Regions from separate parts of the Homo sapiens genome. Here all the other regions are linked to region 2. The links are contacts of gene promoters, found by promoter capture Hi-C in blood cells and fetal thymus (Javierre and others, 2016). All regions are on one chromosome and are shown on one strand. Each heading gives the region's core, a stretch centred on a gene start or on the middle of the fragment in contact. The rest is flanking DNA. Distances are from core to core; before and after follow the strand shown.

Region 1 (4,810 bases), core at 2,152-4,651, 280 kb after region 2:
GTGAGCCAAGATTTCGCCACTGCACTCCAGCTTGGGTGACAGAGCAAGACTCCATCTCAAAAAATAAAATAAAAAAAAAATAAAAAATAAAAGAAACATTTATGGGACAGTCATGAAAAATGTGAACACTGACCAGATATTTGATAAGTTAAAGGAGGATGGCATTGTCATTATCTTTACAAGTTCTTGTCTTTTAGACATACCTTACTGAAATATTTATAGATAAAACATCATGTCTGGGATTTGCTTAAAATAATCAGGGTGACATATAGAAGAAGAAAAATTGGTCACAAACTGATATTTGTTGGAGCTGGGTAATGGAATGAATACCTGGAATTCACTGTACTTAGTCTACTTTTATATGTTTGAAATTTTCCATTAAGAAGTTTTAGGCTGGGCGTGGTGGCTCATGCCTGTAATCCTAGCACTTTGGGAGGCCAAAGCAGGCAGATTGCCTGAGCTGAGGAGTTCAAGACCAGCCTGGGCAACATGGTGAAACCTTGTCTCTACTAAAATGTAAAAAATTAGCTGGGTGTGGTGGCGTGTGCCTGTAATCCCAGCTACTCAGGAGACTGAGACAGGAGAATGGCTTGAACCCGGGAGGTGGAGGTTGCAGTGAAGCAAGATTGAGCCATTGCACTCCAGTCTGGGCAACAGAGCAAGACTCCATCTCAAAAATAAATAAATAAATAAATAAATAAAAAGTTTTAAACTTTTTATTTAAACTTTTTATTCCTGGAACATCTGAAATCTCTAATTTAAACTTTATTACCCAGAAATGATATCATCTCAGAAATGAGAGACTCTCACATTCAAATCTCTAGCCTTAGCATATTGTCCCATGTCATGCACTTGTTCTCTTGAACTTAAAGTGACTTTCAGCTCAGATCCCTCCATTTTCTCCCAATCTCTCAATTCCCTCTGCCACTCTAAGTCACAACAATCAACTGTCCATATGAACTGCAATTGACTTTTCTGGATATGCAGGCTGATGAGTACTGCTGGGAGTGGAAGTAAAACTGTAGATGGATTTGCTACAAAGTCACAGACCACAACAGGCATAATCTTTTCATTTATCAATCTTTTATCTGACCTTACTCAGCTTTTCATACTATTCTTCTTAGAAATTGCCCAAAAGCACTCATCATTTCTCCTCAGCTCCCTCTACTCAACCTCACAAACTACCACCTAGTACTCTGAAAAGAGCAACATAGCTTTGGATGTATTTGTACTTAATGTTTCTTTACAGATAATTTGTTATATTAAAACAGTTCTAACTGTAAAAGAAAATTCATTAACAAAGAGATTTTAGCAAAACCTTTCTAGAAAACAGCAAAGTTACATTTTAAAACTTACTGTTCACAGCAATCCATTCATTGAGATCCTCTCCCTCAGGCAACATAACAGCTTGTCTCAGATTCCCACTTCCTAGAGTTGCTTCTGCATGTTTTAAGAGTTCATACTGATGAGATCCTTCAGGGATATTCTTCTTTGGTTTGAATGTTTTAGAAGAGCGGCTGCTGCTGTAAGATTAAAAGTGCAAGTATATGAATTTTTAAGACTGGAAGTAGAACAGGTAGAACAACATAATTTTAGGTATATAAAGTAGCCTGTAAAAATAAAATAAAAAATACTCTCTGGGCCAGGCATGGTGGCTCATGCCTGTAATCCCAGCACTTTGGGATCACCTGAGGTCAGGAGTTCAAGACCAGCCTGACCAACATGGTGAAACCACACGTCTACTAAAAATACAAAAATTAGCCAAGCATGATGGCGCACACCTGTAGTCCCAGCTACTTGGGAGGCTGAGGCAGAAGAATGGCTTGAACCTGGGAGGCAGAGGTTGCAGTAAGCTGAAATCGCATCACTGCACTCCAGCCCAGGTGACAGAGCAAGACTCAGTCTCAAAAAAAACAAAAACACTCTCTGAAAAATGCCAAGATAGGAAGATGATGATCACAATACAAGAATGCTTTTTTTCCCCTGCCTGTAAAAGCAAGATTAGCAGCACAATTCCACAAATAAGGCAATTTTACTATGCCCTCTGAAGAAGTCTGGTACAGAGAAACATCCTGGATTTTAGTTCTTGATCTGACACTAACTGTGTCTTCTTGAGAAACTGAACCTTCTTTTGGCCTCAATTTCGGTTTTTTTTTTTTTTTTTTTTTTGAGATGTAGTCTTACTCTGTCACCCAGGCTGGAATGTAGTGGCACAATCTCGGCTCACTGCAATCTCCACCTCCTGGGTTCAAGCGATTCTCCTGCCTCAGCCTCTCGAGTAGCTGGGATTATAGGCATGCACCACCACACCCAGCTAATTTTTTTTTTTTTTAGTAGAGATGGGATTTTGCCATGTTTGCCAGGCTGGTGTCGAACTCCTGACCTCAAGTGATACACCCGCCTCAGCCTCCCAAAGTGCTATAGAAAATGATGGGGCCATGCCGGGCGCGGTGGCTCACGCCTGTAATCCCAGCACTTTGGGAGGCCGAGACGGGTGGATCACGAGGTCAGGAGATCGAGACCATCCTGGCTAACACGGTGAAACCCCGTCTCTACTAAAAATACAAAAATTAGCCGGGCGTGGTGGAGGGCGCCTGTAGTCCCAGCTACACGGGAGGCTGAGGCAGGAGAATGGGGTGAACCCGGGAGGCGGAGCTTGCAGTGAGTCGAGATCGCACCACTGCACTCCAGCCTGGGCGACAGAGCGAAACTCCGTCTCAAAAAAAAAAAAAAAAAAAAAGAAAATGATGGGGCCATGGCTAGGTGCGGTGGCTCACACCTGTAATCCCAGCACTTTGGGAGGCCGAGGCAGTGGATCACGAGGTCAAGAGATTGAGACTATCCTGCCCAACATGGTGAAACCCCGTCTCCACTAAAAAACAAGTACAAAAATTAGCTGGGCGTGGTGGCACACGCCTGTAGTCCCAGCTACTCGGGAAGCTGAGGCAGGAGAATGGCTTGAACCCAGGAGGCGGAGGTTGCAGTGAGCCAAGCTTGCACCACTGCACTCCAGCTTGGCAACAGAGTGAGACTCCGTCTCAAAAAAAAAAAAAAAAGAAAAGAAAAGAAAAAAGAAAATGGTGGAGCCAAGTGCAGTCGCTCACACCTCTAATCCCAGCCATTTGAGAGACCAAGGCAGGAGGATTTCTTGAGCCCAGGAGTTTGAGACCAGCCAGGACAACATAGTAAGGCGGAATGGGGGGTGGGGAAGATAAAAAGAAAATGGCGCAGGGAGGTTTAGTTCAAAAATCCAGTATTCTATATCAAAATATTTGAGACGCCTTGAAAGCAAACCACAGTAAAAGAAACACTAACATCTTTAAGTTTATAATAGGGAAAATAAATGAGACAGGCACAACTCGTTATTGAGGAAAAAATGTTTTTATTCCTATCTCACACCATCCATAAAGTCTTCCTGCACAAAACTCAGAAACCTCAAAGAAAAAGTGGACAGATTTCAAATAGTATCAATTAAAACTTTCATAACAGAGCAAAAAGACAAGTAACCAAATAAAAGTACTTGTAACATATATTACAAAGGATGAACTGGATAATAGAGGGCTTCTGTAACTCGTTAAGAATATAAGGAATCCTTTAGAAAAATAGGCTAAGGAGATGAATAGGCAATTCAGAAGTATGACAATCAATGAGCATGAGAAAAACTGTTCAATTAAAGTAAGATTTATTTTTTCCCTAATCTGAATGTCAAAAGTTTAAATGATTACATTAAATGTGGACTAGGGTAGGGGCCCCCAACCCCAAGGACACAGACTGGAGCCCACAGAAGGAGATGAGCAGTGAGCAAGCAGCAAAGCTTCATCTGTATTTACAGCTGCTCCCCATTGCTGGCATTACCACCTGAGCTCCACCTCTTGTCATATCAGCAGAGGCATTAGGTTCTCACAGGAGCGTGAACACTACTGTGAACTGTGCATGCAAGGGATCTAAATTGCATGTGCCTTATGAGAATCTAAAGCCTGATGATCTGTCACTCTCTCCCATTACCCCCAGATGGGATTGTCTAGTTGCTCAGAGCTCCCACTGATTATACATTATGATGAGTGGTAGAATTATTTCATTATATATTCCAATGTCATAATAGAAATAAAGTGCACAATCAATGTAATGCATTTGAATCATCCAGAAACCATCTCCCCAACCAGATCTGTGGAAAAATTGTCTTCCACAAAACTGGTCCCTGGTGCCAAAAAGGTTAGGGACCACTGGACTAGGGTACAGAGAAACTAGTATTTTAATACACTACTGGTGAAAGTATAAAGTGTAACATTTTGGGAGGGCAATATGGTAGTATCTATTAATACTGAAAAGCTCCTCAAGCCATCCATTCTACTTCTAAATATCTCCTCTAGATATGGATAAGAATTTTTTTCCAAGATTGTTTTTAATAGGGAGAAACCTAGAAGCAATCCTCAAGTTTATCAGTAGAGGATTGAATTAAAGTATGGTACATCCATATCATGGAATATTGTATAGAAGTTAAGAAAACCAGACAGAGTACACGTATTCACAGGGAAAGATCTAATACATGGTTAAACATAATACACAACCAAACGTACAGCAGGAGCCCATTTTGTAAATACATAGAAAATATCAAAAACTAAACTCATCAAAACTGGTGATTACTTCTAGGAAGAGGAATGGAATAGAACTATGGACTTTTACTTTACCTGAGTAATTTGGAATTTAAATAAGACTGATTAAGAAGTAAAAAAGAGCCGGGTGCAGTGGCTCACACCTGTAATCCCAGCACTCTGGGAGGGCAAGGCGGGTGGATCACTTGAGGTCAGGA
Region 2 (4,634 bases), core at 306-2,805:
GGAGGACACAGAGCTGAGGGGCATTTCTGGTCGGGGGAGCACCAGGCTGTGGTGCCCAGGTGGTTGTGGGAGCATGAGGGAGACACAGGGTTCTAGACTGACTGACTTCTAGCTTGAAGGGCCGAGGGGTGGACTTGGAAGTTGGCAACCCAGGAGGCACAGCAGCTTTGAGGGTAGGGAAGAAGGGTTCAGTTTTAGACAGGATGAGTTTGAAGAGCTGGAGAGTCATCTGGATTGGGATGTCCAATAGGCAATTGATCATTTTAGTCTGGATCAGGGTGAGGGAGGGGGACCATGAGAATGTGGAGTTGAAAGTAATACTGCAGAGCTGGTAGCTGATAATGTGGGAAATGAACCAGCTACCTAGGGATAGTACATGAATTACACAAAGAAGAGCAATCATCAGCCAGCCATGGTGGCTCACACCTGTAATCCCAGCACTTTGGGAGACCAAGGTGGAGGGATTGCTTGAATCCAGGAGTTCAAGATCGAGACCCTGTCTAATTAAAAACAAAACAAACAAACAAAAAGAAGTCCAGGCGTAGTGGCTCACACCTGTAGGCCAAGGCAGGTGGATCACGAGGTCAGGAGCTCGAGACCAGCCTGGCCAACATGGTGAAACCCTGTCTCTACTAAAAATACAAAAATTAGCTGGGCATGGTGGCAGGTGCCTGTAATCTCAGCTACTCAGGAGGCTAAGGCAGGAGAATTGTTTGAACCTGGGAGGCGGAGGTTGCAGTGAGCCGAGATTGCACCAATGCACTCCAGCCTGGGGGATAGGGCGAGACTCTATCTCAAAAAAGAAAAAGAAGCAGCTCAAGAATCACAGGACTGTGGAAAATCCTACAGGCCAAGAGTCTTGTTAGGTGTGCCTCAACCCTGAAGCAGGTCCCTCAGTCTGCAGATATTTAGAGATATTTAAAGGAAAACCAGGAAGGAGCCAAGAGAGAATGAAGCCTAAGGTGTCCTGAGACCCTCAGAGAACTCAGCCCAAGGGTTAGGAGCTTGTGTCAAGGTGCAGCAGGTGAGTAGGGCACGCAGGATTTCTTTCCTGGGTACGGAAGGCATTTCTCTTCAGCTTTCATTGGTCCCAGGCTCGTGCCAGACAAGGCATGATTGCACCCATTTTGGGGACAGTGCCTGGGCGTCCCAGGCAGACCCAGGGGCCGCATGCAGCAGGGCCTGAGGAGGGAGGTGTGGACGGAGGAGGCCCGCTGCCATTCTTGGTATGGTTCTCACTCCAGGAGCACAGCTGCATCTGGTCTCACTCTGGGCAGCTTATAAGGCCTGGTGTGAGTTTTGTTTATGCAAGTGCAGCATAAAAGGAACAAATCTACCAGCACCGGGGCTGTTGCCACTGAGTCCTTTTGCATACATTTTTCAAATGATAACTCACTCTACCCACCCCCCTTCCCTACCCCCAAGGCGATTTATTGAAAAAACCACCTTATATGGTAATATTGCTAACACACCGTCAGCTGGCCTTTTTAGGGACTTTGTTTAAAGAAGATCCGCCTCTGGGGTTTTATATTGCTCTGGTATTCATGCCAAAGACACACCAGCCCTCAGTCACTGGGAGAAGAACCTCTCATACCCTCGGTAAGTACTGTACGGCTTTTGCCACCTCTTCCTTTCCGGGGCTGCCTGGCCTCCTGGGTGCGGGAGGTGCCTCCAGATTGGCCTGGCTTCTGTGACGCTGGCCCAGATCACACACCAGAGCCCTTGGTGGGCAGCGGCACCTGCAAGCATACTGCAGCCTGCTGAGAAAAGGCGTATCTGGCCATGGGACATCCTGGGGCAGGGGCAGCTTGGAACCGTGCTCCCTGCCTCAGAATGGGGACTGGCGGGATATAATGCCTGCAGTCTCTACTAGCCCTGCTCCCCAGGGCCAGTGCAGATCCACACCCTGATGTCCTTTGTCTTGGGTTAGAATGTCTGGGAGGCTGTTTTAGGGGATCATATACTTTGCAGAAAAGCAGCTTTTCAGAATACTTGAGTCAAAGCCAACAGTGGTCCTGGTGTCTGTGAGCTGTTTAGTCCATGAAATGTCTGTGCTGGGAATGGGAGGGTATTTTCTTCAGGTCCCCTGTGGGTCTCTCTGTCCTCTGATCTGTGCTTGGCTGAGGAGAATGGAGGGTTTCTGCAGTCCTTGAAGGCTCTAGGATCATTGGGGGATGGAGAAAATTCCACTTGCCCTGTGGCATCGTGAGGTTTCAGGGTAGAAGGAACTTGGGACCCATCTAGTTCATTCTCCTCTGATGAGGACATTGAGGCCTAGAGACGTACAGCCACTCATCCAAAAGACTCACACCCAACTGTGACCCATTTGCAGATGTCATTACTCCCCCCAACCCACCCAACACACACACAACACATGCACAAAGAATTAAGAGGAAGATGAGATGAAGGGGCCACTTCTATGTTTGGCATCAGAATTCACTAGCATCTCTTCACAGGTGAGGCAGGCTGGGTGTGGCAGTGCAGGCCTTGAAGGCAGACTGTCAGGCTAACCAAGTTACTGAGCGACCTCAGCTTCCTCACCTGTAAAATGGGGGCAAGAATAATAATATCTACTTGGCGATGGTGTGAGGATTAAACGAGAGAATGCGTATATACAGCACTCAGCTCAAGGCTGTCAGGGCCCGGCCCTGAGTTCTCAAACTTTAAGAATCACCTGGAGTGCTTGTTAAAACACAGATTGCCCCATGCCCCACCCCAGATTCTGATTCCAGTAGGCCGAGATATGGCCTGATACTTGGAATTCCTAACAAGCTCCCAGGCGACACTGAAGCTGCTGGTCTGGGACCACACTTTGTACAGGGAGGCTCTAAGTGCTCACTTTGATTACTTGAATGTGGGTTTGGACTCTGATACTAACCCTTGGGCTGAAAAGAGGAAGAGCTTCCTGTGACAGAGAGGGATGGGTGCTGGAGAAACTGCAATGAACAGTAAGATCCTACATGCCAGGCCTGAGAAAAGGGGATGGGCCGTGTGACATCATGACCTTGGGGCGAGATATCTTTCCTCTTTCCCCTTGTTCATTCTGCCAACATTTATTGAGCACTTATTATGGGCCAGGCACTGTCTCTGCTCCTTAGGGACAGTGGAGAGGCTTCTGCAGTTACTGGAAGAGACAGATAAACAGATGAGAACCATGGAGCAAATAAGTACACGAAAGGGGTAAAGGCCAGGAGGAGCCCATCACTCAACCCAGGAGTTATCAGGGAAGACTTCCTGGAGGAAGAGGTGCCTGAGCTTGGTCCTGAAGTAAGGACCAAGCTTGGTCCTTCCTGGTAAAGAGGAAGCATGGTCTTTGGGACTCAAGTGGCTCAATTCCACTGAATTTAGATAGCAAGGCAGGAATCAGGTAAAACTAAATTCAGAGGGGTCCGCAGGGCTGGATTACAAGGGCTTTAGACTCTAAAGGATCAGGCTATGGGGAGCCATGGAAGGGTTTTAATCTGGAGGGTATCTGTTGAAGGGGCTGCTTTGGCAGCTGTGAGGAGAGTGGACTGGAACAGGGCAAGAGCGCTACTGCAGCATGCGGTGGTCCTGAGCTGGTGGCATGGGTGCCGTGCAGGTAGAAGTAAGAAGGGCTGGTGATAGGTTGGGAGGGAAGAGGGCGGCACCAGGGCATTGGGCATGGGCTCAGGGTGGGTGGTGTGAGTCTGTGAGGGCAGCTCCGGGCAGAGGCTGCTGATGAGGAGAGCAGTCCTGGAGGTGTGGAGTTGGGGTGCCAGGGGGGTTTTGGTGGGGGAGATGCACGGCAGGCTCTGCAGGCCTAGAGCTCAAGAGAGGGGTCTGGACAGGAGCAGAGCCAGGGGAGTGAATGGAAGTCCGGGTAAGAGCCAGAAGATAAGGCACCCACGACAGATTGTGGAGGATCCAAAATATTACTCAGCAGAGTTGTTTTTAATTGAACTCATGTATATATAGAACCTAGTGAAGATATCCTGAAGTTAATTAGAGGTGCTGTTAGAATTTTCCATCGTGGCAGTGTTTTTCATAGACAATTTCTCTCTGCCAGGGTTTCTGATGGTTTGTATATACGTGTAGGCAAATAATAAAAGGCAGAGACGCAGCTGCTTACATGTCACTTGAAGCTCTCACCCAAAAACCTGTCGCCAACTATTGTTTGAAATCTCATCATCGCAGAGGCCCTCCGTTTAGGCCTAACACTTTCTGTCAAAATGAAAATGTCTTTGAGAACTGACATAAATTCAACTTTCAATAGTCATTGATGTGTGAAATGGATCATTCAATTCCTTTCAATATGACAGGCTTCATCCTGGGAGCAAGTTTTGATGGAGAAGAGTAAGAGAGATTAATAAGAATCATTATTCTTTACAGCCCTTGACGACAGGGATTGACGAAGCCCGGATAGTAAATATTTTAGGCTTTCGGAGCCTGAAGTTCTCTGTCACAAGTACTCAATTCTACCATTGTAACAAAAGCAGCCATAGATAATATGTAAGTGAATGGATGTGGCTGTGTTTCAGTAAGACTTTATTAGACTCTGAGATTTGAATGTCATATAATTTCCATGGGTCATGAAATATTTTTCTTCTTTTGCTTTTTTCTCAACCGTTTGAAAATGTAGGGCCGGGTGCAGTGCTTGCACCTGTAATCCCAAC
Region 3 (4,619 bases), core at 917-3,416, 330 kb after region 2:
TGCCAGCTGGCGTTATTCTTTTGATAGTTCTCTGGAGTTTAAAGAAGTTTAGATAGTTTGCTGGAGATGTTTTTGTAAGTGACGTATAGCTTATGTCTCTAATCCATGCCTGCTTACCTAGATTATTAAATGTGGAGCAAGATGACCAGACAGGATTAAATTTTATTGAATTACAGTTACAAGTGGAAAAAATGACTGACTTACTGCATGGAGAAGTATTATGTCAACCTGTTAAAAGCTATGGAAATTAAAATGTTCATGTATATACAAAATATAAATGACATGTAAGGTAAAATTACAGTGATCAATTTACAACAAAGAAATTAACAGTAGTTTTCCAGCTTGTTTGATTAATCAAGCAGGTTTACTCTTGAATCCATAGCATTTCTACAATTTAATTTGGACAAAGTTCTATTCCAGATCAGCCAGGTTTTAAAACTGAAATGTGTTAAGGGTGGATTGTTAGCTTCCCCAGGATTGGTGTGGATGATAAATACTTTTTTTAAAAATTAATTATTATTGTTTATAAGACATGGATTCCAGCTGTCTCCCTGGCTGGAGTGCAGTGGCATGATTATAGCTCACTGCAGCCTTGAACTCCTGGACTTAAACGATCCTCCTGCATCAGCCTCTGAAATGGCTGGGACTACAGGTGTGTGCCAGCATGCCTAGCTAATTTTTAAACATTTGTTTAGAGATGGGTCTCACTATGTTGCCCAGGCTGGTCTTGACCTCCTGACCTCTGCTGATTCCCCCCACCTCTGCCTCCCAAGTAGCGGGATTACAGGTGTGAGCCACTGTGTCTGACAAGAATTTATACTTAAGCATAGGAGATGGTTCTGGAAATTCTAAGAAATTCTGCTCTCAGTAAGAGTAGAGGTTTGGAGCTTTACCTCTTGGCAGTATCCCTTGGAAGGGAGCTCTGAGATTAAATGTAATCAAACACTTATTGAGAGCTTTCTATGGACCAGGCACTACACTAGACGCTGGGAATTACAGAGGCAATTACCTGTCCTATACTCAAGGTGTTAATGATCTAGTGTCATTTTTCTTTAAAAAAGAAAGCACCTGCATTTGTCATCTTGAGCAAATATAGTAACTCTAACCTCAAGGTTCAAGTGATTTACTCAAGGTTTAAATCATAGTTGTTTTGGAGAAAGTAAGTGTCAGATGCACTGTGGCTGTCAGGGTCATAGTAGGCATTAAATCAACATGGTTGGTGTTCATTAAATGTGGATTGAAGATAAAATGACTGATCTTAAGTTTCATGAGGAATAGGTTTGCTTCATTGAAACTGGTTTTTATCTTCCCAAATAGTTTTCAATCATTCCTTTAAAGTACTAGGTTGATTAATATTGCAAAGTTGTAATGTAAAATGTGACCTTACCTCTGTCTAACCTGTATTGTTCACATGAATGGGAGTTTGACTTTGGGAATAAACATTGAAAATTTGCAGGGAGGACCCACCCAAATGTATCATGAAATGTGATTCCAGGTATGAAAAACCAGTGATACTAATTTAAAGGATCATTTTGATTTAACATGTGGTTTCAAATTTCACTTTAACAAGAACTATTTTATTTTAGAAACATTTATCCACTCAGATGCATTGGTTCTTTCATTAACAGAGTTTTGGAACTGGCTTTTCAATCTGGGAAAGCCCCAGTCACACTTCTGGAGCAAGGCCCATAATGCAGATGGTTCAAACTTTTTTTTTGTTTGGATACGGAGTCTCACTCTGTTGCCTAGGCTGGAGTGCAGTGGTGCCATCTCAGCTCACTGCAACTTCTGCCTCCTGGGTTCAAGCGATTCTCCTGCCTCAGCCTCCCGAATAGCTGGGACTACAGGTGCATGCCACCACACCCGGCTAATTTTTTGTAGTTTAGTAGAGACGGGGTTTCACCGTGTTGCCTAGGCTGGTCTCGAACTCCTGAGCTCAGGCAATTCACCTGCCTCGGCCTCCCAAAGTGCTAGGATTACAGGCGTGTGCCACTGTGCCCGGCTGGTTCAAACTTTTCATATAACCCTTAGGAAATTGGATGTGACAGGGAGAAAAGATAGGACCTTTTCAGCATTTCTTAATATGCAGAATTGCCAAATATTCCAAAGATGGTCTAGTGACATAAAAGTATATTACAAGTTTGTTTGAGAACATCTATATTTAAATCTAACCTTTAAACAATTTTAAATTGATATTTGTTTTAAATATGAATTGACTATTGCCCCTTTATCTTAGCTATGGTTTGGGGAAACAAGCATTTTTTTATTTCCAAAGAAATGTTAGAATTTCTATGCTGAACTGCATTTTAAAATAAAATATAATATTTAGCTTTAGGTATTTTAATTACTACAAAGGGGAGAGCTTTGCATCTAAGCAATACTTTTCATCAATAGATCTCCAGTTTTCTATAGGCAGACGGACTCCCTCTGTTTGATAAAGAAGGAAACAGGCACAGAGAAGTTAAGACCCTCCCAGTGAAGACTAAGCCAGGCTCTCCATCTCCCATCTGGGAGAAGCTGCTTCATCCTAGAGGGTGGTCTCACTGTCAGTTTCTCTTCGGTATTTATCCATGTCTGTGAAGTCATAGTCTGACTCCATCTCTATCTTCACCTGTGGCACCATGAACACTGGGTTCCGTGAGTAGCTGAAAGCAGGTGAAGCTGGACAGGATATTTTGAAGTGCAAGGTGATGCTGAACGAGAAGTAGGAAAGAAGGATTACGTAGTTCTTGGTGTTTTGAACCCATCCCCTAGAGCAGGGCTCTAATGCAAATACTTCCATCTTTGCTTCTGAACTCTCAGCACATGCCAGAATGAGCAGTTTCCTATTGGCTTGGCCTTCAGCCATAGTCACGCATCTGGTCTCACCCTGTAAACCTATCTTCACATTGCTGCCAAGGTGAACTTTTGAAATCACAAATTTGGTGATTCCTCATTGGGTTCAAAGAATCTAAGCTCCTTAGTGTGAGAAGACAGGAGTGTCTTGTCTTCTCACAAACACAAACACAGTCTTCTGTGTTTGTAGTCCTGCCTGCTTAGTTTGCCCCATCCATTGCAGTGTTCTTTGCTCTTTGGAGGTGTGTGTGTGTGTGTGTGTGTGTGTGTGTGTGTGTGTGTGTGTTTGTGTGTGTTTTCAAATGGTACTTCGGGCCTGTGTCCACTGCCTGAAATGCCTTTTCTTTTCTCTGCCCCGCTCTATGTCTGGCAGATTCCAGTTTCCCTTTCTTAGATTCTCAAAACGAGGCTACTCCCTCCCTGTGTACTCCGATATTCTTGCACAGGGTGCTCTGTCTTTGTTTGCATGCCTTTCTTTCCACATCCTCAGGGATTAAGCATCGCACCTGGTAGATCATTGATGCTTAGTCTTTGTTAAACCAGATCATGTTGCAGAGCCTTTCACTGAAACAGAATCTTGCTATTTAGTGATCTTTGCCTCCATCTGTTTTCATAAATTCAGTAAAACACCAATGAGGTTGGGAGATACCATCTCCAGTTACCAAAGTTTCTTCATTTCTGACCCTGTCTTAGGGCCTTGTGTAATTTAACAGGGTTTTGGAAACCCCTAACCTGGTCCAAATTTTCTCTCTACTGCCTGAAATTGGGAGTAGTCAGTCAATTTCATGTAGATTATTTTATAAATGAAAATAAGATAGACTGCTTTTCTCATAATACCGGTGTATACTAATGTATAAAGATCAATGGCATCACATATATAGGAGCCTGACTGGGGAAGTGGGATGAGAAGGAAGGTGGAGATTAACTGGGACAGGTGACACTTTGGGCTAGAGCATCTTTGGGACTGCTGCTTAGGGAGGGTTGAACTGGGGAAAAGTGTGTCGTTTCACCCTGGCATTGGGATAGCAGCTTTGCCTTATAATTCAGAAGATCCCCTGCCCCGTTTCCCCAAAAATCTCTTGGATGAGTGCCCTCTGTGCCTGGAGATTGATCTTCTAGACTTGGGATAGCCTGTGCTGTAATTACTGTTTGATCCCTGTCCATTCTAGGGCACAAGGTAGGAGTGGGACTGCCCCTGGCATCTTCCCAAGTAACAATGAAGTAAAGCCTTTCTTGCCTCTAAATTCATCTTTTCTGTGTTTGCCCCCACTATGTCATCATCAGGGAGTCTCACCTTTTTCACGGGTGGCTTCTCATGAAGAACAATCACATTGTTGGCATGGGGGCTCCTGGCAACTGGCCTTGAACCTATTCTTAACAGTTCCCATCTCCAGTTGATCTCTGATGTTAGCTTTGATGTTGATCTCTGATGTTGGCTTTCCTCCATACCCTTTCTGACCTTTGCTAATTAACCCTGCTGTTAATTCATTCTACAGAGTACCCCAGGGTTTCGATCCTTAGCGTTCATTTATCCTGGCTTTCAGTGATATTACACTTAAGCCATGCCTAGTTTTTCTGTTTTCTTTTTTTTTCTTTTTTTGAGATGGAGTCTTGCTCTGTTGCCCAGGCTGGAGTGCAGTGGCGTGATCTCGGCTCACTGCAAGCTCCGCCTCCCAGGTTCACGCCATTCTCCTGCCTCAGCCTCCCGAGTAGCTGGGACTACAGGCGCCCACCACCATGCCCGGCTAATTTTTTGTATTTTTAGTAGAGACAGGGTTTCACCA
Region 4 (4,523 bases), core at 754-3,253, 370 kb after region 2:
ACTTGAAAAAAATTCTCCCAATGTTGCCAAGAGACTGAAAGAATAAATAAGTACTCCTCCGATTCTGCAGATGGGGAGACTGAATGTAGGTTAACCCCAGGCACCATTAAGCCTTGTAGATGGGAAGGAACTGGCAACGACTTTCCTTGACTAAGACATTCCTTGACGGATGAAAACGGCTCCACTGAGATGTGGGTTGAGGGGTCAGAGAAGAGCCCCGGGGTTGCCGGACATCAGGCCTGGATGGCCTCCTTCAGGCTGAGCAGATGGGAGTCTCAGTGCTTCTACCTCAGCCACCCAGACCTCCCCTCTCCACCTTCACTTTTGGTAGCTGTGGGGAGGAGGAGGCCTGTTCTGATGGTCAGAGTAAACAGGCCTTATTTTCCCTTTGCCACCAGCTTCCTGGCTCACAGGAATTCCTGGACCAGTCTCCAAGTCTGTGGGAGACTTCCATGCCCCCACATTACCCCCAGGGGACCTCCCAAGGAAATTCATCACTTCTGGAATTTTCCAGCAGAGACTATCAAGGTGGCCTCTCTCCAGTCTCTCTGGCTAGTGTCACTTCATGGGAGGAAGGTCACACAGGCAGAGCCAGTGGGGTCTGATGTGAGAGGTACTGGAGACAAGCCCTCCACCCAAATGTATTCCCACTCTCTGCGTTTATAACTTCCTGAGTCCTCTTTTATGCTGAAGATACCCCAGGGATGGTTACTTTCAAGCTCTTCTTAGTCCTTAACGTCTTAGAATGAATTCCTTTTTCAGATTGCTTTCCCTCTGGGCAGCAAGGGCATGGACAGACAAGAGACAGAGATAATTTTGTCGGAAGATGGAGGGGAGCAGTTGGGGTAGCGGCAGGACTGGGTGCAGTCCACAGTCGCTGACACAGTGGGAAAGCGCCTGGGGGTAGAGGACAGCTCTGAAGAGAGCGCCTGTGAACATCACAATTTTCCTACCAATCCCCCTTCTACTGCAGTCTTTCCCGCGGGCACAGGCCTGTTTCTCACAGCCTCAGTGAAGACACAGCTTCCTTGTGCCTCTTCCTGTCCCTGTGGAGGGGTCAGCTATGGGCATGGATATGGTCAACAGGTCCTGCCATTTTGTCCCCACAGCTGTTTCCCAATTCGACTCATGTGGGGGCATCATACACACTGGGCTGGGTGGCCTACCAGCACGAGGAGGGGCTCGTGAGCAATGGCACTACCCTTATAATCGTTTAAATCCAATCAGACAAAAAAAAAATAACCCTCCACAACCACCTGGGCAACCATCAGCAGCCCCAAGGATCCTAACATAGTGAGAAAAAGCAGGAATTGACAGGAACACCGGAGTCCCCAAGACTCAAAAAGTCCCTTTGTCTCAGGCATGGTCAGCTGATTACTAAGCAGCGTTCTTCAGGGTGGAGGGCTGGGTGTAACAGGGCAGCCACCGTCTCCGAGCATCAGGCAGGGAGGGGGTCCAGGGAAGGGGAGGAGATACGGGCTGGGCAGGAGCACCCTGGAGAAAGAGGCTTCGGAAGCAGCAATGCTTCAGGGTGTCCCAACAAACCCACTTGTTTTTGTTGTTGTTTTGATTTGTTTTGAGACAAGAGTCTCACTCTGTCGTAAAGGCTGGAGTGCAGTGGCACCATCTTGGCTCACTGCAACCTCCTCCTCCTGGGTTCAAGCAGTTCTCGTGCCTGTCTGGCACATGCCTGGGACTACAGGCATGTGCCACCACGCCCGGCTAATTTTTGTATTTTTGATCGAGATAGGGTTTCTCCATGTTGGCCAGGCTGGTCTCAAACTCCTGGCCTCAATCCATCAGCCTCAGCCTCCCAAACTGCTGGAATTACAGGTGTGTGCCACCACACCTGGCCATCCAACCAACCCACTTGTAATACAGAAGATAAGAGAAATTTAACCAGGGAGTTGGTCCTTCCTTACACGTTGTGACATGTTTGGTAAGAAGGCCAGGGTTGTGGCATCCCAGAAATGGGAGCATGCTAGTGTTCCAACCAACCCTGGCTTGCCCAAAGCCTGGATGTGGGCTTGTATAACCAGGGCCCTGCTGACTCCACTTCCTGAACCCTTGGGGACTCCAATCTGGCTCTGCACTGCAGAGTCACTGCAGCACAACGATGCTGTCTGAATCTACTCTCTGTTCACTGGGAATCTGCCAGCTGAGGGCAGGCATGGAGTTTAGCTTTGCACAAATCAATGATGAAGAAAGAGCCTGCAGAGCAAATGCCTCTGGGCTTGCACCTGAAGAGCACCCAATAGCAGAGACCACTGATGCTGCAAATACCGAGAAGCAGCATCAAGTATCAGCAAGGAGAACCAGATGCTGGCGCTAGGTGATGGGTTCCAATCCCCAAATCAAGAAAGCACTGTCTGGTGAAAGGGACAGCTAGTGTTATTATTACCACTCACACATTCATTAAAACAGGTTATAAAAAACTTTTACTAGGTAATGCTTTCTTATCACAGTTGCACTGTCTGTATGCATGAGTAAAAGTGGTTTTCCTCTCCAAATAATGTTCCAGAATACTGACTAGTTCCTAAATTACTTCCAAGTTAAGGGCTCTGGAGTTAGACTGCCTAGGTCAAATCAAAGTTCTGTCTTTCAGCTGTATAGACTTTGGTGTGTTATTTAACTGCTGTAAGCCTCAGTGTTCTCTCATGAGTAAAATGGGAATGAAAATAGTGCCTTTGTGATTCACAGAAAATGCCTGGCACAGTGTAGTGCATGTGGTGTGGAGCTTAAATATTGATTGATTTTGTTACTGTTGTTATTAATTTATTTGTGCCCGGGACACTGACATGAGGGGCTGACTTTGTTTTTGCCTTCCACCAAACTTAGGGGTGGCTGGAAGGCCTGGAGGTCACCCAAGCTCCTGAAGGCTCCTCGCCAAGTCTCAGGTTTCCTTTGTCATCTTTCTTCCTACTCCTGGGGAGATAGACAAGGGGACCATGGGGCCTCCTGTCCTTGAGGTATGCAGGAGTTGGAATTAAGGGGGCCTCCTCTGGGCTTCCCCAAGGGGCACAGTCACAGGATTCTGGGGCTGTGGGCCTTAGAACTGGACCCAATTTGTTTGCAGAATTCTGATCTCATCACGAGGGTTTCAGCCCAGTTCATGGGAGACCACAGGAAGAAGATGCACTATTGGACAGTCTAATTAACTACCACTGTTCTCGCCACAGGGAGATTCTTTTCTGTCTCTCTGCCAGCCCCAGTCCCTATCCCATCTTTAAAGGTGCTTGTGGATCACAGGATAGATGAAGCCATGTGTGCTGGTCTTCTCTCTCCAACAAATCCCAAGCTCAAGGACAGCTGGCGCCTCATTTAATCATGTTCTCTGTCCCACACCCCCAGGGCCTGACACAGAGCCAGCACCTGGGACTCCGTCATTCCCCGACTACTGGCCTTGGCAAAGTCCCCCAGGCAGCCCAGAGTCCCCACTGGGGATCTTCCTGGAACTCCCACTCCTTTGTAGGAGTGGAACTCTGCCCATAGGGGATCCCTGCTCCTGAAACCAAAGACTTTTTCCTGCCCTGGCCCTCCATTGCAGCTAAGTGCAGGGGTTTTACTACCTGGTCTGTGTTTGGGGTGAGAGAAATGTCATTCATGCTTCTGCTCTGGGCATGACCTAGGAGAAAAGGAAAAGAAGATCCATCAGGGGAAGCCAGGCTCTTGCAGGTCCCTTTCCTATGGGCCCTACTCATGTACCTCTCCCATGTTCATAACCAAAGCAAACTCCCTCCCCCTTAATCCTGCAGTCCCCTTAAACTAGCATCCTCTCACTTTCCTTCTGTTCAATGGCTGCTTTCCTGAAAGAGGTGTTAGACTCCAGTTTCCACTGTTTCCTTCTCCCTCCTCAATCTACCACACTCTAGTCTCTACTCCTCCACCCCAACGTCTTGGATGTCACCAGGCTGTCTACTCTGGGTGTGGCTCTGCACCAGGCCCGGATAGGAGGAGGGACACAGACGCATTATTAGGTGAGGTTCCATGTGTCACTTAGCTTGGAATTTGCTGGAGGGGGAGCAGTTTCACCTCTGTCCTCCATGACCGGTGAGAGTCTTCAAACATGGGCTGGGGATTTAGGCTGGCAGAGGGAAGGAAGGTGGGCTTCCCATGAGAACAGTGATAGCCAATTATTTGAACTGCCCAATAGTTCCTTCCTCTGTTAAGAGAGAGAAAGCCAGCTCTCCTCTCCCACTAGCCCAATCTGGTGGACACCCTCAGACCTATCGTGTCTCGGCTATTGGCCTGTGCCACTCCTGGTGTCCAGAATGCTGCTCCTCTTGGCTCTCCTCCTCTCATTTCTGTCCCAGGATCCTCTCCTGCTTGGACATCCCAGGGCCTTGTCTTTGCTCTCATCCCCTCCAGGTGCCTCAGCCTCTCCGCTGGTCAATCGCTCCCACTCCTGTTGTTTCCAACACCCATTTGGGCTGAGGATGCCCAGGATGGATCTTTAGTCTGACTCCTCTTCTGAGCTGCAGACTCCTTGGAGCAGTCCCCTCTGGCACCTCAAATGCAACTCT
Region 5 (4,707 bases), core at 816-3,315, 340 kb after region 2:
GAGGTCACTTTGGGAAAGACAGAGAGCCTGTGCCCAGTGGCCCAGCCTAGTTTGGTCCTGGTCCTCAGAAAGTCACTCCAGCCCTGGTGGCCTTACCCACATCTGGAGGTCACATTTCCCCCTCAACACACCAAGTGGGAACTCTAGTCTCTGTCCTCATATTTTCCTGGCCCAAAGTACTGAAAGAAGCATCATGTCCTTCCTTCGCTCTTTCTGACTTTGTGGGAAGAAAGAGGTTATGCCTCTGCTCCTAGTACCGGCCTTACCTTCAGTTTGTTCTCCTTCCGGTTGACAATGACGGCAGTGATCTGCTGGTCCATGAAGATCAGGATGGTCACCAGCAGGGCGGGCAGGATGCTTGCTGGGTATACCCACCACGGGTTCTTCCCAAAGGGGGCCACGAACCAGCCTCGGTCAGGCCGCGTTGGCTGAGTGGGAGCAAACAGAGAGGGGCCCTTTCCTCTCTCCCTTGTCCCAGGGCACTTGTCGCCTGGCCTGCTGTCCCACCTCCTCAACTTTCCCTGACTTTGGGTACTTTTCAAGTGCAATCTTTTCCCTTAAACACCTTAGGTAGCTGCAACTTTAGACTAAATTCAGACATGGGAAGGAGCATGCATGCAGACAGTGTCTGTAAAACTAAGAAGGTAATTTGCTGCAACAGCCCTGGGGTTTGTCAGGAAACATGGAGGTGAAGGTCAGAGGGCAGCCAGGAGAGAGAGCACAGTCACCTGCTGCAAATAACAAACAGCAGGAATGAGGCCCAGCAGAAAAGAATAAAGAAATGGGTGGGCCCAGGGCCAGCTGCTTCTGCCTCTCCTGAGTCACCTGTCTGGGAGCATTATAGAATTGTCTGTAAAATGCTGAACATCAGTTCAGTCCTGCATGTTCAGAATGAGGAGAATATATAAAAAGACTTTGTCTCAAAAAACAAACAAACAAACAACAACAAAAAAAACCTTAAAGACAGGGAGGGTAAGTTCTAGAATCTGGACTCCCTACTCTGGTGAGATCGTTGGTGCTCTTTTTTTTTTCTTTCTTTCTTTCTTTTTTTTTTTGTTTTTGAGACAGAGTCTTGTTATGTTACCCAGGCTGCAGTGCAGTGGCGTGATCTCCGCTCACTGCAAGCTCTGCCTCCCGGATTCACGCCATTCTCCTGCCTCAGCCTCCCGAGTAGCTGGGACTACAAGCGCCCGCCACCACGCCCGGCTAATTTTTTAGTATCTGTAGTAGAGATGGGGTTTCACCGTTACCCAAGATGGTCTCAATCTCCTCACCTCATGATCCGCCCACCTCGGCCTCCCAAAGTTCTGGGATTATAGGCGTGAGCCACCGCACCTGGCCGGTTGGTGCTCTTATGAGGGAGTAGGGCTGGGTTTAGCTACAAGCATATGTCACCAGTTCTAACTAGTGGGTAATTTCTAAGCAGTGGTTCTCAAACTTGAGCATACTCCAAGTCACCTGAAGGGCTTGTTAAAATGCAGATTGCTGGTCCCACCCCCCAGCTTTTCTGATTCCACAGGTGGGGCCGAGAAATTGCATTTCCAACGAGTTCCCTGTGACTGTGATGCCATGATATTGGTCTGAGGACCACACTTTGAGAATCACTGTTCTAAGGGATCAGTTTCAATGGATCCCATTTGGCCCAGCTTATAGATTGCTAGAGGTCAGGGAACTGGAGACACTCAAATAGGAATCAAGAGGCTTCTGCTGGGTTGGAGGGTGAATTCCAGTGCCTTCCTCACCTCGTGACTATAGATCAGGATTTCCTGGTGAATATGTTACCCCTCCCCGCCCTACCTCAAAGGACTGGCTCCTGGGAGCCTGTGTTCAGGAAAGGTGGCACACAGAGAACTAAAATGGTCTCTTGGCCAAGAGGAGAAGAGAGTTTGATCAGCACAGAGGGGAAAGAATCTGCAGCTGGTAGGCAGGCAGACTGGATGCCCAGAGCGAGGGAAAGGGGCAAACCTTGATGACACTGGGCACATGCAGCTTGGGAGTTTCTAGGCCAAAACAGGCATCGATTCCACAGAACATCAGGATGGAGAAAACAATGGAAAAGTCAGCCACCAGGGCCCGGACCTGCAGACAGGAGATGAGCAAGTAAAAGAAGTGAGTAAAGCACCCACCCAGCTCCAGGCAGCCCCAGTCCTCCGGCAGCAAAGAGGTGAACTATTACAGTCTGGGCTCTGAAGGCAGCAGAACTAGGCTCAAATCCAGGCTCTGCTCCTTGCTAACTGTGTGAGCTTGGGGAAGCGTGTCATCTCTCCAAGACTCAATTTCCTTCTCTGTAAAATGGAGATGATGGTAGTATCTCCCTCAAAGGTGTAAGTGAACTGTGACACATTTAGAGTGCTTGGCATATGGTGGTCAATGTGGGATCTGTTATGATCCATATGGCCATGGCAGCCACTGCTGAAGATGTGTTCTGGTATGACAGTCTGAACTGGGGCACCCAGCAGGTATGATGAGGGCAAGGGCTGGACTCTGAAGCAAACCTTAGTTCCTACAAGCCTGTGACAGGTTGTTGTACCCCACCTGGGCTAGGAGGGAGGCTCCCCAATTCCACTGGGGATCATTGGCTACACTCAGACCTTTTGTCCACCAAGAGTCTCTTGTTCCGCTGTTTCTCAAGAGGCCCTTCCTAGGCCAGGTTCTGAACCTGGAGGCCCTTCCTAGACCAAGTTCTGAACCTGACCTTCCTGCCCATTCTGAATCAATGTCCTCCGACCTCCCCTCCAAACCAACTCTATGTCCAGAAGTCTCAGGACAGATGGTCCCCCAACGTCTACCCTGTGGCCTTTTTAATATCTTTTCAAAGAAGGCAATTTGAAGGGCAGGGGCAGGTGACAGTACATTGACTTCATTCCCTGCATCCCCCTTTTCTCTTTAAATTTGTTATTAACATAACATATGTAATTGGTTAAAAACCCACATAGTGGAAAATACTTATGAGGAAAAGCAAAGTCTCCCACCTCCCCTTTTCTCAATCCAGCCCCGCCTTCCAGATCTATCCACTATGTCTGCTTGATTTTACTTGTTCCAGAGGTTCCCTCCATGTCATTAACTAATATGCATATACTTTAATATTTTCATTTACTAATTTAAGGGATTATCTATTGATAAGAATTTACCTTTACTTACACTGTGCCTCCTGTCCTTTCCTTATTCCTAATCTTTGATAGTTAATTTTAAGCTCCTATGGGTTTCCTTTGTACTTTCAAGTGATAATAATTAAACATCTCCTTCCATTAGCTTTGGCTAATATCTCTCATTCTCCATCTTGCAAGGTGAGGACCACTGCCTCTATCCTCCTACCACCTCTCTCCTCCTCCCCTCTTCCTTCCTGTCACACCTCCACTTTGACCTTTCCATTGTCGAAGCTGAGAACAATCATTTCTTGTTCCGTAAACACATGGCTTGTGTGTTTTATCTGTAAGTCAATTCCAAAAGTTGAAAATTAGTAACAGCTTTATATTATCATGATCATATAAATATTAGTCACAGCAGAACCAAGTAGTGTGCTGGGTTTATACTTCCTTTTCTATAATATTCCTAGCATATACATCAAAACCATATGAATGCTTATTAAGTTAAACCACATGAACTTGACTTTTTTTGTAGGTTGAAACAGTCAAATATGGGCAACTTCATATGGTCCAACCTAATCAGAGAGTGTCAGTTGCTCTCCAAATTGGATGTATCTGTCTACATTCCCACCTACTGCTTTCCATCTCCAACATCTGGTGTCCCAAGACCTTCATCTGTCTACCAATCTGATGAGTATAAAATGGTGTGGCCTCATTCCTCTCTGCAACCGGAAATTCCAGAAGGCAACTGAGCAATTTTTTTTTTTTTTTTTGAGACAGAGTCTCTCTCTGTCGCCCAGGCTGGAGTGCAGTGGCGCAATCTTTGCTCACGGCAAGCTCTGCCTCCCGGGTTCATGCCATTCTCCTGCCTCAGCCTCCCAAGTAGCTGGGACTACAGGCGCCCACCACAACGCCCGGCCAATTTTTTGTATTTTTAGTAGAGACGGGGATTCACCATGTTAGCCAGGATGGTCTCGATCTCCTGCCTTCGTGATCCGCCTGCCTGGGCCTCCCAAAGTGCTGGGATTACAGGCGTGAGCCACTGTGCCTGGCCCAACTGAGCAATTTTTAAGTAATGTGACGGAAAAAATGTTGTTGGCACAAGAATTTCATGCCACATGAATTACTTTTCATCCTGTAGGCAACAGATAGATACTCTCAGATACAGTGACTGCTTGAGAATTTTTACATAAGAGGAGATTGAGGGATGTGCTCTGGACTGGAAGTGGGCAGGAAGGAAGAGAACTTGTCTTGATGGTGCATTTGTGTTGTAAGCAAACTATTTTTTTACTCAGTTTATATACTGTGAAGCTTCCTAAAGCACCTTTTATTTAGTCTTTAGAAAATCTGGGAAAAATTCAACTATTTATTTCAAAGATTTTATCATTATGATTAGTAGCAGTAGCAGCTGTAATACTTAGTTAAGATGGCTTTAGGAGACTGCTAATGGAGTTTACGGTGGGAAAGAGTTGCTTAAATTCTTCCGAGTACCCCCCACCCCACGGCACAGTTACTGCTTATGTATGCAAGTGCTGTTTTCATAAATCTTTTATTCCAGCCACAAACAGGTAGAAAATAAAATTTAAAACAGCAGTTAGGGCTGGGTGCGGTGGCTCACACC
Region 6 (4,457 bases), core at 382-2,881, 270 kb after region 2:
CACACCAACCTACCTTTGGGATAATTTTATCAGTAGACACAGGCAATGGGTATCTTTTTATCCTGTTTTCTTAAAGTTTGTATCACTAGTCTATAACAGATAGCAATGAGATAGTTCTAGCAATAGATGAAGCAAGGGGGTAACTGTGTTCTAGAAGAAACATTTATCTGTCTTTTGATCCAAGTTTCTCTATTAATTCTTGAAGAGGTGCCAGCTCACGCCTATCAATCAGATTAAACTCCTAAAAAGAGAAGAAAAATAACAATTAAAAATGGATCTAAAACTGAAACTCTGTAAATGTCTTTTGGAGAAGGGATTCCCAACTCTAGTTTTCTGAAGTCCAAAAGAATGATGAAATAACCTCTGTGAACATTTTAAAGTAGGCATTTATTCTTTTTCTTTTTTTTTTCTTTTTTGTACAGATGTGGTCTATGTTGCCAAGGCTGGTACTGAACTTTGGCCTCAAGTGATCTGCCCACCTTGGCATCCCAAATCCCAAAGTGCTAGGATTACAGGGGTAAGCCACCACGTCCAGCCCTCTCTTTTTAAAAATATAGGTATGATATTGTGATATAAGTATTTGGTCTTCCTTTTTCTTTACACACAGCTCCTAAAACCCTTGTTGGAATCACCAGAGTGCTAAGAGTATCTTGTATGCTAATGAGATGACTGGTGGCTGGAGGCTCCTATAAAGCTTCAGGATGGGAACTGGTCAACCTTCAGCCAGCCCTCTCCCCTTCCCAGATCACAGCCTCTGGGGAGGGGAAAGGGCTGGCTGAAGGTTGAGTTGATCATCAATGGCCAATTATTTAATCAATCATGGGCAAGTAATGAAGCCTCCATAAAAACACAAAAAACAGGGCTCAGGAGAGCTTCCAGATAGCTGAACACGTGGAGGTTCCTGGAGCATGGCATGCCTGGAGAGAGCATGGAAGCCCCTTCTCCTTTGGCCCTACACATCTCTTCCATCTGGCTGTTCATCTGTATCTTTTGTTAACATCTTTCATAATAAACAGGTAGAGATAAGTATTTCCCTGAGTTCTATAAGCGGCTCTAGCAAACTAATCAAACCCAAGGAGGGGGTTGTGGGAACCCTGGTTTATAGTCAGAGGTATAGGTGACAATGTATTACTTTTGATTGATATCCCAAATGGGGGGCAGTCTTGTGGGACTGAGCTCTCAAACTTGTAGGATCTGATGCTACCTCCAGATAGACATTATCAAAATTGAATCAAATTATAGGACATTCATCTGGTGTCCACTGTAGAAATGATCACTTGCTTGGTGTGTGAGGGACAGTCCCCATGTTTGGTCACAGAAGCGTTCTGTGTGGTGAGAGTATAGTAGGATAAAGGGAGTTTGTTTTTTCCCATATTTTTACAATGGGAGACTTATTAAAGAACCAACTCTAGGTATCAGTATGATCCTCATTGTGTTAAACATTAAAATCAAAACTGTATATATATTTAAATTTACATTAAAATTACCCGAAAAAGGCCGGGCATGGTGGCTCATGCCTGTAATCCCAGCATTTTGGGAGGACAAGGTGGGTGGATCATTTGAGGTCAGGAGTTCGAGATCAGCCTAGCCAACATGGTGAAACCCCATTTCTAGTAAACATAAAAATTAGCCGGGCGTGGTGGCAGGTGCCTATAATCCCAGCTACTGAGGAGGCTGAGGCAGGAGAACTGCTTGAACCCAGGAGGCAAAGGTTGCAGTTAGCCGAGATCGTGCCACTGCACTCCAGTCTGGGCGACAGAGCAAGACTCTGTCTCCAAAAAAAAAAAAAAGAGGGGGGAAAAAAAAAAAAGAAACTACCTGAAAACTACAAACTGAATTTTTGATAAAGGGCCAGTAGACCTTTTATGCAACAATCTGAGAAGGAAGATCAGGAAGAGCATGGTACAGTACACAAAACTATAATACACAGTATCTACTATAAAGCTACCAGGTTTTTTCATCATAAAATATCTAGACAGACATGTATATGTAATTCAATATGCAAAATATAAGTATCTCTAAAGTTAGGCTAAAGGCATACCAATTCTTTGATATCTTTTTCAAACAATGTGAATTATTTTGATTTTTTAAAGTTCCAATTCTGGCCGGGTGCTGTGGCTCAGGCCTGTAATTCCAGCACTTTGGGAGGCCGAGGTGGGTGGATCAGGAGTTCGAGACCAGCCTGGCCAACATGGGAAACCCCGTCTCTACTAAAAATACAAAAATTAGTTGGGGGTGGTGGTGGGCACCTGTAATCACAGCTATTCGGGAGGCCGAGGCAGGAGAATCACTTGAACCCAGGAGGCGGAGGTTGCAGTGAGCCAAGATCACGCCATTGCACTCTAGCCTGGGCCACAGAGTGAGACCCTGTCTCAAAAAAAAAAAAAAAAAAAGTTCCAATTCTGACTAAGGGTCCACAAAGCAACAGGCCACAACCCTGAATGGATAATCCTAACCACAGACCTAGGGTGGCCAGAGGCAGAAGGCCCAAATGGGGGTGATACCTTTTTATACTGCTGCACACATCAATAAAATAAATAATGTGGAAAAGAGAACAAAACAGAAAAGAGAAGCTTGCCTGTAATTGGCTCTACATCTATAACTAAGACACACAGCTCTTTGTTGAAGTTCCCAATCCAAATAAGTCCAAGTCACAGGACACAGAAATCAACATGGATCAACTTACCTGAACAAAGAAAATAAAGTGCTTAAAGGAGGTGTTGAGGTGGGCCTCCTCTTGCAGCTGCATCACAGAATCAAAGTGCTGGTGATAAATATGGGCATAAACCCTGAACAGACGCTTTAGAATAGTCTTTGCCACAGACATAAAGTTTTTGGGAAATGGGACACCTGCAATTAAATACACATATGAAACAATTATTTGGTTATCTAACAGTAGAAAGTTGTTTATTTGTGACAGGGTCTCACTTTGTCACTCAGGCAGTGGTGCAATCTCAGCTCACTGCAGCCTCGACCTCCTGGGCTCAACTGATCCTCCCACCTTGGCCCCCCAAATAACCTGCACTACACGCCACCATGCCCAGCTAATTTTTTGTATTTTTTGTAGAGATGGGGTTTTGCCATGTTGCCCAGGCTGGTCTTGAACTCCTGAGCTCAAGCAATCTGCCCGCCTCAACCTCTTAAAGTGCTAGGATTACAGGCATGCCCAGCCTAACAGCAGAAAGTTTACACACTGCCATGAGCACCTGCAACATATAAACACACACATTCATAAATACACACAAACCTACCTCTGTATATATTTTTTAAAGCCAAGGAAATGAAAACCCAAACCCCAATCCTCACAAAGTACCACACTTTTTTCTGACTGCCTTAGGCACAGGTATCAAATTATGTAAGATGCTGCTAAATCAAAGTTCAAAAATCCTGTAGTTTTAGTTTTTTGTTTTTTGTCCCCCCCCCCACCCCGGAGACTGAGCCTCACTCTGTCACCCAGGCTGGAGTTCAGTAGCATGATCATGGTTCATTGTTACCTCCACCTCCCAGGCTTAAGCAATCTGCCCACCTCAGCCTCCAAAGTAGCTGGGACTACAGGCGTGCACTACTACACCTGGCTGATTTTTGTATTTTTAGTACAGATGGGTTTTTGCCATGTTGGCCAGCCTGGTCTCGAATTCCTGGCCTCAAGTGATCTGCCTGCCTTGGCTTCCCAAAGTACTGGGATTTAGTTCTTTAATATTAGAGAGTTTCTTTCTGAAATTAAATGCAACAAGAGTAAGTATTTTGATCATAAATATTTTTACTTTGTAATTTGTAACTCTAAAGAAATTACACTGGCTCCGTGTGGTGGCTCGTGCCTGTAATCCAGCACGTTGAGAGGCCGTAGTGGACAGATTGCCTGAGCTCATAAGCCTGAGTTCAAGATAAGCCTGAGCAACAAGGTAAAACCTCATCCCTTAGGAAAAAAAAGAAGAAATTACATACATACGCACTCTCTCAATGAGGACTGGAAACTCTCCTAAGCAAAATAAAAAGGCAGCCGGGCACAGTGGCTCACGCCTGTAATCCCAGCACTTTGGGAGGCCGAGGGGGGCAGATCACGAGGTCAGGAGGTCAAGACCAGCCTGGCCAAAGAGACCAGCTTGGCCAACATGGTGAAACCCCATCTCTACTAAAAATACAAAAATTAGCCAGGGGTGGTGGCAGGCAACTGTAATCCCAGCTACTCGGGAGGCTGAGGCAGAGAATTGCTTGAACCCGGGAGGTGGAGGTTGCAGTGAGCCGAGATCGCGCCACTGCACTCCAGCCTGGGTGACAGAGCGAGACTCCGTCTCAAAAAAAAAAAGAAATCTCTTTTTAGAAAACAACGGGGGTAGAGTTTGGTATCCTTCCAAGCAGTGGAGATGGGGATCCAACTGGTTACATTCCTGAGAATTTTGGCTGACAATATCAAAGTCCATTAGAAAACAGGGACAGACAGGTCAGGAGTTCGAGAC

What was found. Contacts are between HindIII fragments. The CHiCAGO score rates a contact against its expected background, and 5 or more counts as called.
Region 1: a fragment that was not itself captured here is called in contact with the fragment with the promoter of ACTG2 in region 2 in 1 of 17 cell types (activated CD4 T cells); the score reaches 6.0 in activated CD4 T cells.
Region 3: a contact is called between a fragment that was not itself captured here and the fragment with the promoter of ACTG2 in region 2, in 1 of 17 cell types (activated CD4 T cells). The highest score is 5.8, in activated CD4 T cells.
Region 4: a contact is called between a fragment that was not itself captured here and the fragment with the promoter of ACTG2 in region 2, in 1 of 17 cell types (activated CD4 T cells). The highest score is 5.3, in activated CD4 T cells.
Region 5: a contact is called between a fragment that was not itself captured here and the fragment with the promoter of ACTG2 in region 2, in 1 of 17 cell types (activated CD4 T cells). The highest score is 6.6, in activated CD4 T cells.
Region 6: a fragment that was not itself captured here is called in contact with the fragment with the promoter of ACTG2 in region 2 in 6 of 17 cell types (activated CD4 T cells, naive CD8 T cells, naive CD4 T cells and 3 more); the score reaches 11.7 in activated CD4 T cells.

Annotation. Positions count from the first base shown.
Region 1 is chr2:74,171,230-74,176,039 of GRCh38, forward strand. It overlaps MOB1A (MOB kinase activator 1A), which reads right to left. Exons shown (of 6, transcript NM_018221.5): 2 at 1,357-1,523. Among named protein-coding and RNA genes, the nearest start is that of MOB1A, 5.2 kb to the right of the region's middle. The HindIII fragment of the contact is 821 bases long and covers 2,992-3,812 here.
Region 2 is chr2:73,891,453-73,896,086 of GRCh38, forward strand. It overlaps ACTG2 (actin gamma 2, smooth muscle), which reads left to right and starts at 1,556. Exons shown (of 9, transcript NM_001615.4): 1 at 1,556-1,599. RefSeq lists an enhancer at 632-1,445. The HindIII fragment of the contact is 3,877 bases long and covers 1-3,277 here.
Region 3 is chr2:74,216,100-74,220,718 of GRCh38, forward strand. MTHFD2 (methylenetetrahydrofolate dehydrogenase (NADP+ dependent) 2, methenyltetrahydrofolate cyclohydrolase) reads left to right here. Exons shown (of 8, transcript NM_006636.4): 8 at 1-1,466. It overlaps SLC4A5 (solute carrier family 4 member 5), which reads right to left. Exons shown (of 31, transcript NM_133478.3): 31 at 143-2,693. Among named protein-coding and RNA genes, the nearest start is that of MTHFD2, 20 kb to the left of the region's middle. The HindIII fragment of the contact is 7,791 bases long and covers 1-4,619 here.
Region 4 is chr2:74,256,019-74,260,541 of GRCh38, forward strand. It overlaps SLC4A5 (solute carrier family 4 member 5), which reads right to left. Exons shown (of 31, transcript NM_133478.3): 12 at 3,570-3,625. Among named protein-coding and RNA genes, the nearest start is that of MTHFD2, 60 kb to the left of the region's middle. The HindIII fragment of the contact is 5,568 bases long and covers 1-4,523 here.
Region 5 is chr2:74,233,136-74,237,842 of GRCh38, forward strand. It overlaps SLC4A5 (solute carrier family 4 member 5), which reads right to left. Exons shown (of 31, transcript NM_133478.3): 22 at 1,966-2,079; 23 at 267-428. Among named protein-coding and RNA genes, the nearest start is that of MTHFD2, 37 kb to the left of the region's middle. The HindIII fragment of the contact is 4,660 bases long and covers 1-4,395 here.
Region 6 is chr2:74,156,405-74,160,861 of GRCh38, forward strand. It overlaps MOB1A (MOB kinase activator 1A), which reads right to left. Exons shown (of 6, transcript NM_018221.5): 5 at 2,687-2,850; 6 at 1-241. The coding sequence ends at 164. Among named protein-coding and RNA genes, the nearest start is that of BOLA3-DT, 11 kb to the left of the region's middle. The HindIII fragment of the contact is 1,879 bases long and covers 693-2,571 here.